2 separate regions of the Homo sapiens genome follow, and region 2 is linked to region 1. Evidence: promoter capture Hi-C in human tissues and cell types (Jung and others, 2019). All regions are on one chromosome and are shown on one strand. The core of a region is centred on a gene start or on the middle of the fragment in contact, and the rest is flanking DNA. Distances in the headings are between cores, read along the strand shown. Region 1 holds the start of TNR (tenascin R). Region 2 overlaps COP1 (COP1 E3 ubiquitin ligase).

Region 1 (5,316 bases), core at 1,234-3,733:
TCCCCTTTTTTTGAACTGACTAGTGCCTTTTTTATGGGTTTCTCATCTAATAGTAACAGATCATACTTCCAGCTTCCTGGTAGATGCTACACCCTCACTCGGTTATGTTAGCTTCTATGTTATTGAAACACTCTATTAAATGGTGTGGGCACTTCTAAGTGATGAGAGAAGATATCATCATGCTTCACAAAGGGGATGACTTTAGAGTCAAATAGATGTGCATTTGATTTGGGTTCTATACTTATTAGATGTGTGAACTTGAGCAAGCCACTTAACTTTTATGAGCCTCAGATTCCCCATTTGTCAGTGGAAGGGTAATACTTTCTTTGAAAGTTTCCTACTATGCTCTTTCCCCTTTCCCTCCTCCATGAGTTTGCACATGCTATGCCTTCAGCTTAATTCTCTCACCCACTTTTTGCTGGGAAGACTTCTGATTATTCAGGCCTCAGCTTAGATGCTGCATACCTTAGGAATTCCCCTAGCCCTCAAAGATCAAGTTAGTTGTGTTTTCCATGTGCTCACTGCCCAAATTCTTGGCACTTAGTCCTTGAATTGTAATCATTTGTGTCTTGCTCTTTCTTTCCCCCTTTGAGGAACTGGTAACTCTGTTGAGGACAGGGACCATGATTTGTTAATTGTCACCTACCATCTTTGTCCTACTTCATCCACTTTTCACCCAAAAAAAAAAAAAAAGCCAGAAAAAGTAAGCCACCTCAGCTAAGGAATTCATAATTCTGAGATTCTGAAGAAAATGTCAATTTCTCACTGAGCGTTTATTACCTGAATGCATTACAACGTTTCAGCTCTTCAAATTGCTGGCTCCGTTCTTGCACTGTGTTAGGCAGTGGGCAATAATTTGCTTTTGGTACAGAAATTGAGTGATGTGTCTTCTGAACTGATGTTAAAACCCAATAGTTTCCAATTTTATAAGATTTAAAGCCAGTTTTGTATATGTGAAACTACCCAAATCACCAAGAGAATTAATTTTCTTAGGAGATTCTCATCGGTAATAGCAATTTCCACAGTTTGTTTGGCACCCCTAGTGGTAAATATTTTATTTTAAAAACTCAGCCACATATAAATTTATTGTAACAATCTAGGCACTTTGTCATAAATAAAAGCAATGATAACTGTGGTGCTATCTTCTATTTACTTCAAATGTCACTCCTGAAGTGTACATTTATAGAACATGGTAATTCAATGAGGAAGCTCCAGGGTCAGATGGCTCAGGTTCCATTACCATCCCTGACACTCACTAGTTGTGTGATCTTTGGAAAGTTATTTCATTCCTCTGTTACTCAGTTCCCAGTCTATAGAGTAGCAATAATAGCCTCTGCATTATAGAGTTATTGTATGGCTTAAATGAGCTAATACATGTAAGGGCTTATAACAGTGCCTAGCACCTGGTATAAACACTCTATAAATGTTAGCTATTGTTATTTGCCAGGAGTGAATCAAATATAAGAAGAGTGTTTGTATAAGATTACCTTTAAATTCCCTGCCAATCCTGAGGTTCTATGTTTCTATATCATTCCAGTCCCTTAGCATTCCTATTCAGTAGGGAGGGGGCAGCATTATCCACATTTTACAAACAGTAAAATTGAGCCATAGAGAAGCAAAATGTCCAGTAAGCAAGTGGCAGTCTGAAACCAGGACTCAGATTTTTAGATGTAAGTATTAGGACTCTTTCCGGGAGGCTGTGTGGCTGTACATTTAAAAGAGAATGTTAGATATCCCTTATGAGCCTATGAGCAGTGACCCCTTGATGCCCCTTCTCTGCCAAGGTTCTCCATAAATGTGCATCAAGGTCACTTCTGTCTCTACTTCTGAGATGATCTCAGGCCATATCTTTTCAGATATTTTTCTTACTAGCTTTACAAAAAAGCTATATTGTGGAGTTGGATGAAGGGCCAGCTCCCTGTATCCTCTGCCTCTTTAGGCATTCCCATGCCTGGGTTGTGCTACGTATACACATACTTCACCTGGCTGCAGACGCTGACTTTTTGGAGGGTTCCTTCTGCTGAGCCCGGACCTCAAACCACTTGAGAACCCCACAACTGACCTTATTCCAAAACATTCTATCCCAACCCATTCCACCCTGGATTTCTCCTTCAATCATGGGCAAAGGATCTGCAAAAGCTTCCATCCTCTCCCTTTCTCTTCTTATCTGGGTTGGTCAGAGGGAAGCCTCTATCTTCTTCAGGACCCTGCCTATGCAGAGGCAGCTCCAAGAGTTGGGTGCGGGGAGTATTTCTGTGCCTGAATCTGGACTGTTCAAGAGGATTTAGGATGCTTTTCTTTTCTGTCCACTAGGGGGCTGCTTGTAGGGGGATGGAAAAAACGGAGGCTTAAAAAAATCATGCTGCTGAAATTTCAGCAAGAGGGGAAAAGAGAGAGCGCGTGAGAGAGAGAGAGAGAGAGAGAGAGAGAGAGAGAGAGAGAGAGAGACAGCAAAGCAGTCCCAGGCTTCCTCCTCTCTTTCACGTCAGAGGCAGGAACCGACTGTGCTAAGGCTGTTGGCTCAACACCCAGAGGAGACGGGCAGACCCAGGGAGAGTGAGAGAAGGGGGTCCTCTCTGACCCAAGGAATTACCACTAGTGGAGTGAAGCCACCTGACTTTTTGATCTTATTTTGGTTGCCTCCTCATTCTCCTTCCACCCGTAGCCCTGACAGCTTGGGTTTCATTTCTTTCGTGGAGCCTTGTCTCTTCCTCCCAGAATAGGAGGAAGGGAAGAGAAGGGAAAGAGGAGGGCTCTCTAGGTGAGCGCATCAGCTGGCTCCAGCCTGAGCAAGCAAGAATTTTCTTCCCAGGAAGCTCCTCTCGCTCCCCGGCCGCCCACCCCCAGCCTGGGTAAGTCCAGAGCACTCGCTCCTTTGATTTTCTGGCTAACGTGATTTCAGCACCAAGGAGAGCTATGAGATGCATTTTGGTTCCTGTGTATCTGTGTGTTCTGCAAGGCATTTGGCACTAGGGTTACATCTATTTCTCTGCTGCCAGTAGAGTCGGGTTCTGCGTAGGGAAAAGAAAGGCGCAAAACTATGTTTACCGAATTAAAGGGGGATTGGACTCTGGCCTTGCGGGTGTGTGTGTGTGTGTGTGTGTGTGTGTGTGTACTGTTGCATAAGACAGGTGAGGTCTGAGCTAAATTGCGGGTGGTTTCTGCGTGTCTCCATGTAAGGCTGTTCTTTTTGTCTGTAGATAAGCGAGATGGTTTGGGGAATTAGTCGTGCACCTTCTTTAACTCTCTCCCGACAAGCCATCCATGGTGGGAAAGAGTTGCAAAGGAAGCCTGGGGGGTTGGGAGTGGAGGTAGAGTTAAAAGTTACGCACCTCTGAGAGAGCTTTAAAGAGGTGCTTTGTAAAATGTCAGTTTCCTAGTATTCTCTGGGCTCTTGCTGTGGAGAGAGCCCAACCTGACCTTTTACTTTCTCTTCTGGTGTGAACCCATGGTAAGTGGGCAGGTGCAACAGGTGAAGCTCAGGCTGGGGCGGCTTTGGGGGGTTGAGGTCCCTTCTGACTTCATGGTGGTAGGAAAGTGCTAGTGTCTTGAGCTTTGCAGAGACTGGCTGGTGTGGGTTATATTACATTTGCAAGGAGGCAGGAGGTACCCTCCACTTTTATGCCATCTTTGGCTATGGGTGGTTGGAAAGAAGACAAAGTCTGTTCTGCCCTGTTTTCTGGGGCATTTGGCAGTGAAAAACAACTAAGAATAAAGGTTTGTCTCTATATGTCTAGGGTGAGCAGAAACAAAATTAGACTTGTCCCAGACTCAGGAGGGCTTGAAGTGGTACTCTGTTCTCCTCCAGCACTGAGAGGCTCTGCAAACAGGAGCTCATTATTACTTCTTTCTTCACTGCTGCTACTTTTTGCAAGGTATTACTCTGTCTCTCCTGCTTTCTGCCTCTCTGAAGTATGTTCAGTCAATTCCCTGCATCTGCTTTGGTATTGTCTTGGAGACACTATAGGCCTGCCCCTGCCCCATTCAGTCCTGGCCACACCTACCTGGTTGAGTCATTCAACAAGTGGTGTTGAGGATTTCCTTCAATCATTCAAGTCTCCGTGGAGCCAGCATCCTACAGGGAACTTGAAAGAGATGTGGCTTCTTGTAGGAGCAAGTCTTCCCTTGATTTAACCCCTAACTGTTTATGGTTCTGGTCACTTTCTTCAAGTGTGTTGAGACAGGGGAGATACATAGGCAAGGTGGGGTGGTTTCACTCTTTCCAACCCCAAATGGACCCTAGAATGGTGATTCTTTGTCTTATTTTTAATTCAGCACAATGGGCCCCTTCTCCAAGATGAAGAAAATACTCTCTGCCTCTGGCTGGGGAGCCTTCTGGGTGAGAGACACAGTTCTGAGTGAAATGGCACCACTTTTCTTTTTTACTATGCTTGGCATTGGATCCAGAAATCTTAGCATCTCCCTAGAGTGGCAGGAAGTAGAATGCATCCAGGAAGACAGTGAAGTCAGAGGTTGTAAGGGTAGGGAAGAAAGACTGAAATAGACAAATGCAGAGCATCAGAAACCAACACTGACTCATTCAGTATTTTAACATTCCAAACCTCCTGTCCTTGAAATCTTCCAGTTTGAACAAGTGAGTGGATAGATTTCTGCATGACACATCACTGAGGATTTTTAAAAAATTATGCCCTTGCAGTGGACCCTGTCCAAAACCACAGTTTATTACTGAAGTCACCATACTTAGTAGTCATTATCTCATTAATGCCCTTAAATTTTCTCTGAAAAAAAAGTGCTCAGTGACATTATTGGACCCATTTTATAAATGGAGAGACACAGACGCTTAAAGTGGGAAGCCAGAGGATAGCGAAAGCAGAAATAGAACTTCTAGCCTGCTAATATTCCCTCACCTAGGAAATGCAGTAATGCTCATGTGCAGGAGAGAAGGAATGGATTGCTCCCCATTGGATAGACTTGCAGCCAAAGCCTTTTAGGGAACTCAGTGTGGAGCAATGGCCTCTCTCTGGTGAAGAATGAGAATCAGCCAGAAGTCTCAAGGTGCTGCTGGCCTTTACTTCTCAGCTAAGAAGATGGCCAAGAGCCAGGTAAAGAGCTCTCTGGGCTTACTGCAAAGAGAGAACCCTGGGCTGGTGGCATCTAGGCTGAACTGATGTCGTGCACCTGATTGTCACATCACCATGCCCCAGAAATCCCAGCTGAAGCCACCCTATCTGGGGCATGTTGCCATGGATGTCTTGGCTTTGGGTGTTTGGTGACTGTTCTCTCTAAGAACGTTTTTCTGGGACCACCTTCATTGAGTCCTCTGTGGCTCTGAATGTGGCAAGGATGACTAAGGAG
Region 2 (5,277 bases), core at 238-2,737, 290 kb before region 1:
CATTTTATTTGTTACAAGATTTATGGGCATCAAAGTCCATAAAATGCTCCTCCACTTACAATGGGATTACAGTCCCAATAAGTCCATCATAAATTGAAAATGCATTTAATACTTCTAATCGTAGCTTAGCCTAACCTACCTTAAATGTGCTCAGAATATTTACATTGGCCTACAATTAAGCAAAATAACACAAAGACTTTTACAATACAATGTTGAATAATACAGGTAAGAATATCATACCACATATCACTAGCCTGGTGAAATATCAAAATTCAAAATTGGAAGTATGGTTCCTACTGAATGCACATTGCATTCTCACCATTGTAAAGTCAAAAAATCATAAGTTGAGCTATTTAAATTGGGGACTGTCTATATTTGTAATATACTCATATCTCTAGGGTTTGTAGCCATGCTTTTTTTTTTTTTTTTTTTGTTTTTTTGTTTTTTTCATTACCTCTGAGAAGCTGTGATGAAGTCATCTTCTGTCTTTTATTCCTGATAATTGGTATTTTGTGTCCTCTCGTTTATTTATTGTTTATTAATTTAGGTCAGCTTGGCATTAGGTTCTTAATCTTTTCAAATGCTCAACTTTTGGTTTTGTTGATTTTTCTGTAATTTTCTATTTTTAATTTCATAGATTTCTGCCCATTTTTCTTCTTGCTTTGGGTTTAATTTCCTCCCCTTTCTAGTTTTTTGAAGATTGAAGTTTATGTCATTTGATACTTCTGTCTTTTTAATCTGAACATTTTTTGTTATATACATTTCCCATTAAGCACTACTTTAGCAAATTTTGAAACAAATTTGAAACCAAGTTTTCATGACTATTTACTATTATATTTGCTATTATATTATTTTCATGACTAGTATATTTGCTTTTCCATTCTGTTTAAAATTCTGTTTGATTTCTCTTGTTATTCTCTTGTTCATCTATGGATTGTTTAAAGTATATTTAAATTTCCTTAAAATTTTCAGAAATCATTCTGTTGCTGATTTATAACTTAATCCTCTTATGGTTAAAGGATATATTTTACATAGTGTTAACTTTTTTAATTTGTTATTTGTTTTATGGTCCAGAATATGAACTACCTTGATAAATATTTCAAATGCATTGAAAAGAAACTGTACTATAAATGCTGTTTGGTGAGTGTTCTGTAAGTGTCAGATCAAAGTTGTTGCTACTGTATTTCTGATTTTCTGTATGCTTGCGTTTTTTTTTTTTTTTTTTTTTTGGTCTCGTTTTATTGATTATGAGACAGAAATGTTAAAGTCTGATTTTATTTCTCTGTTTAGTTACCTTTTTTGTGTTAAGTGTGTTTTTACCTGATATATTTTGAAACTATTGTTAAGGGCATAAATGTATTTGGGATTGTTATGTCTTGGTGGACTGAATCATTTGTTAATATATAATATCACTATCCCTGTCAATATTCCTCTGAAAACTACTTTGTCACATACTTATCAAACTACTGCTAGTAATCTCTTTTTCCTCTCCTCTGGGATTTTAATTATGTTAGTGTATTAGACCCTTTCGTTCTGTCTCATAGACCTCATATTCTTTTTCTTGTCAATATTTTTTTCTCTTCAGGTTGGGTAATTTATATTGTTCTGTCTTCTAGCTCATGATTCCTTCATCTGTCATCTCCATTTTGCAAAAATTTTCATTTGATTCTTTTTAAAAAAAAAATAGTTTCTATATATTCTCTGAGTACTTCTATCTTTCCATTAATTTTAAGTTTGTTTATTTTTACCCCATGGAGTATAATTACAATAGTTGCTTTAAAATCTGTTTCATTTAATGTCTTGGGATCCAACATCTAAACCTTAGGACTGACCTTTGTTAATTGTGTTTTCCTTTGAAAATTCTTCACATTTTCTTGGGTTTTTGTATGTTGAATAATTTTGGGGTTGTCTCTTAGCCATTTTGAATATTATATTGTAAGATGTTGGGTCCTGTTTAAATTGTGTGGGAAATGTTGGTTTTTTGTTTGTTTCTTCATTTCTTAGTAGGTGATCAGTTGGCTTAGATTTAGACTGTAAGTTCTGTCTTGCTTTCCCTAGGTGATTGTTGCCTTGTCAAAGGAAACAATCAGTTCATTTCTCAGAGCTTTTGCTGTGGTACTTTGAGTCTGCCTAATGCCCATGCCAGTTAGAGCTTAGTTTAGGACTTGGGTCATCTTTTCAACTGTAGTTCAGTGCGCAAAGCATTTGCTGCTCTGCTTTGTGTCCATCTTGCACATACACAGCTCAGAAGTGACTGTGCCAGTGAATGCACAGAACTGTAGAATCTCCTTCTCCATTACTTTCTTTCCAGGTTTCTCCCCGACTCTTTATCTCCCAGGGCCCCCTTTTACTGATACTTTGTCAAGAAGGTTGGGTTGTTTCATTTTAGGAGACTTTAGTGCCCAGTCTACTGCTGAATTCTGTTAGTAGGGCCCACCACAAGGGCAAAGAAGCAAGAGAATAAATAAGAAAAATATAATGGGGATTCGCCTTTTTCATATTCGTTATATCACAGATGCTCCTTTTTATATACACAGAGTTTTACTCTGAGTATTAGCTTCTCATACTGCTGTAGCTCTGTGACTGAAGCCCACCCATGGGGAAAAGTTGGAGGAGAAAAAGAGTAAAAAGGAAAAAATTACTCCCAATCCCTGGTTTGCTGAAGTCATTAATAAACACAACAATTTTACTTAGTGTTTGTTGCTTGAGGTGCTGACTTTAGCTTGCCAAGGGAGAAGAGAGGGGGAAAAATGGTACTCTTCATCCCGAATTTCATTTAAGTTTAGAATTCTGTCCTGGAAATGACTGTTTTTGTTTACTTTTTCAGTTTCCTCATATAGTTGCTTTTGTTTTTTGGATATTGTCCAGAGTAAACTCAAAGTGAGAGAGATTGGCTTACTCTCTCAGCTTGGCAGTAAAAGTCTCAAATGCTTTTAAGCCCATCTTAAGAGTATTATTTAGTGTTACTTAAATGTATTTATTACTCTTGTCTGTTTGGCGATCATATAAAATATTGCCTTTGTGATAACTTTATAGTTAGAGAATATTTTAAATCACTTATTTTATACAAATATATTTTGCTTATTTTCTATATTTTGTATTTAGTAAATGTTTAACTGAGGAATTTTTTAAACAGCTATTTTTTTCATTGCTTAAATAAAAACTGAGTTCATATGAATATTTTTCCTACATATGCTGTATATTTTTAAAATAATTTAGTTCCAAGTATATATGCACGTAATTACATGTTAAAGAACCATCATTATGTGGCAGCTAATCAGAAAGGAATTTTATGAGTCATTTTAAAGGTTCTTTTGGAGAAATATATTTTCCTTTTTAAATATGTAACCTGAGAATTGTTTCCAATAAATAACCTTGCCTTTGAATTAAACACATTCTTTAAAGGTATTTTTCTTTAAATGTGAGTTTGAAGAATTTAGACTGTATGATAGCAGAAGTTACAGGTTCTTCTTCATTCCAGATTTCCTTAATATTATTATTATTATTATTTTGAGACAGAGTTTTGCTCTTGTTGCCCAGGCTGGAGTGCAATGGCACGATCTCAGCTCACTGCAGCCTCCACCACCCGGGTTCAAGCAGTTCTCCTGCCTCAGCCTCCCAAGTAGCTGGGGTTACAGGCATGTTCCCCCCACCCTCGCCCCGACAGCTGGCTAATTTTGTATTTTTTTAAATAGAGATGGGATTTCACCATGTTGGTCAGGCTGGTCTCCAACTCCTGATCTTAAGTGATCCACCCACCTCGGCCTCCCAAGGTGCTGGGATTACAGGCATGAGCCACCGCACCTGGCCCTTCATTCCAAATTTTCTTAGTTGCATAAGTTAATGCACAAGTGACAACTGTGAAGTCTTGGTAGATTTTAGAAATCAGTTAGTGAAACTCATGCTGATTGTAATGCTTCCAGTTTTTCATCAGCAGATTAAATAACTTAATAAATAGCATTATGATAACAGTTATTATAATTTATAACTTTAGAGGCAATTACCTTTCCTATAAGTTAAAGCTTTACTAAGTATATTCTCTCCTGAATTTAAATGAAATGTTAAAGACTTATGTTGATCAGCATCCATCATGGCCTCCAGGGATCTCTGCCTGCTAGTGTTCTTATGCTTGTGTAGTTCCCCTTCACCTACCTTGTTCCAGGCTTCATTTATGTGACCAGTAGATGTCTCTTCTAAAATTAGGTTATAAAAGACTCTGTAGCCTCTATCTTCATCATTTTCTCTCTTCGCAGTCGCTTGGTTTGGGAGAAACATCTGCGTTGTCACAAGCCCACATGGTGGGGAACTGAAGCCTTATGCCAAAAGTCATGTTGAGTGAGCTTGGAAGTGGTAGTTTAATAGTCTAGAGTCCTAGGAGGGACAGCTCAACTGCAGTGTGTTGAGACTGAGCCACAACTACCCAGCTTACCTGCTCTGAGATTCTTGACCTCCAAAACTGTGTGAGATAGTATATGTTTGCTGTTTTAAGTAGCTAAGCTTTAGGGCAGTTTGCTGTATGACAACGTCTAGCTACTAATACATGGTCTGTTGTTTCCCTTTGACAAAGTTTTTAAGAGTCCAGCTTATTTATATTTGGTAAACAGTATTAAAGTTTACATCTTTGTATTTAATCTTTCATACTTTTTATAGAGGTATAAAACAATACACATTGCCCCTGAGTTTTATGGTAGTTTTTGTTGAAATAGCACTCTCCCTTTTTACTCATATGGGTAACTTTCTGTTTTCTGTAGGACCTGGACAGTAGTTTAGAAGCGAGTCTGGAAGAATTCCATATGAAACTTACTCATATTTGCACATCCTCATTAAAGCATTGGGCTGTTTTACTGTGTCAAACTTCTGTCCCTGTTTTCTCTTTCTTTGGTAATGAATTCTTTCTTAGGATACTTTGGTGCAAATAGACATGCAGTAGGCGCTGTCAGAGAAACTCAGAAACATAAACCTTGCACACTGGAACTGAATCTGATGTTATTATAGATAAGCAATATCTTGTTCTCTATTTTTGGAAACAATTTTAGCAAACTACTTTGGGGAATGATTCACTCAAATTTTACAGATTATTAGATGATATACTTTATTCTGTAGTGTAGTTGGATTTTTTAAGATTCAGGATTTCAAAATCGAACTGAAAAATTAGGTGACACTTAGAAGACACTTTACACATTAACGTTAAAGAAATAAAACTTGTATAGAACACTTAGTGTTAAGTAACAAATTTATGGCCAACTAGAGTATGTTTCTTTATTTTAACCTCCTAAT

What was found. Contacts are between HindIII fragments. The study calls those that stand out against the background at their distance.
Region 2: a contact is called between a fragment that was not itself captured here and the fragment with the promoter of TNR in region 1, in 2 of the 25 tissues and cell types used here (H1 embryonic stem cells and thymus).

Annotation. Positions count from the first base shown.
Region 1 is chr1:175,740,762-175,746,077 of GRCh38, reverse strand. It overlaps TNR (tenascin R), which reads left to right and starts at 2,483. Exons shown (of 23, transcript NM_003285.3): 1 at 2,483-2,852. The HindIII fragment of the contact is 10,162 bases long and covers 877-5,316 here.
Region 2 is chr1:176,031,663-176,036,939 of GRCh38, reverse strand. The region is part of intron 14 of COP1 (COP1 E3 ubiquitin ligase); the gene reads left to right. Among named protein-coding and RNA genes, the nearest start is that of MIR1843, 66 kb to the right of the region's middle. The HindIII fragment of the contact is 5,547 bases long and covers 1-4,260 here.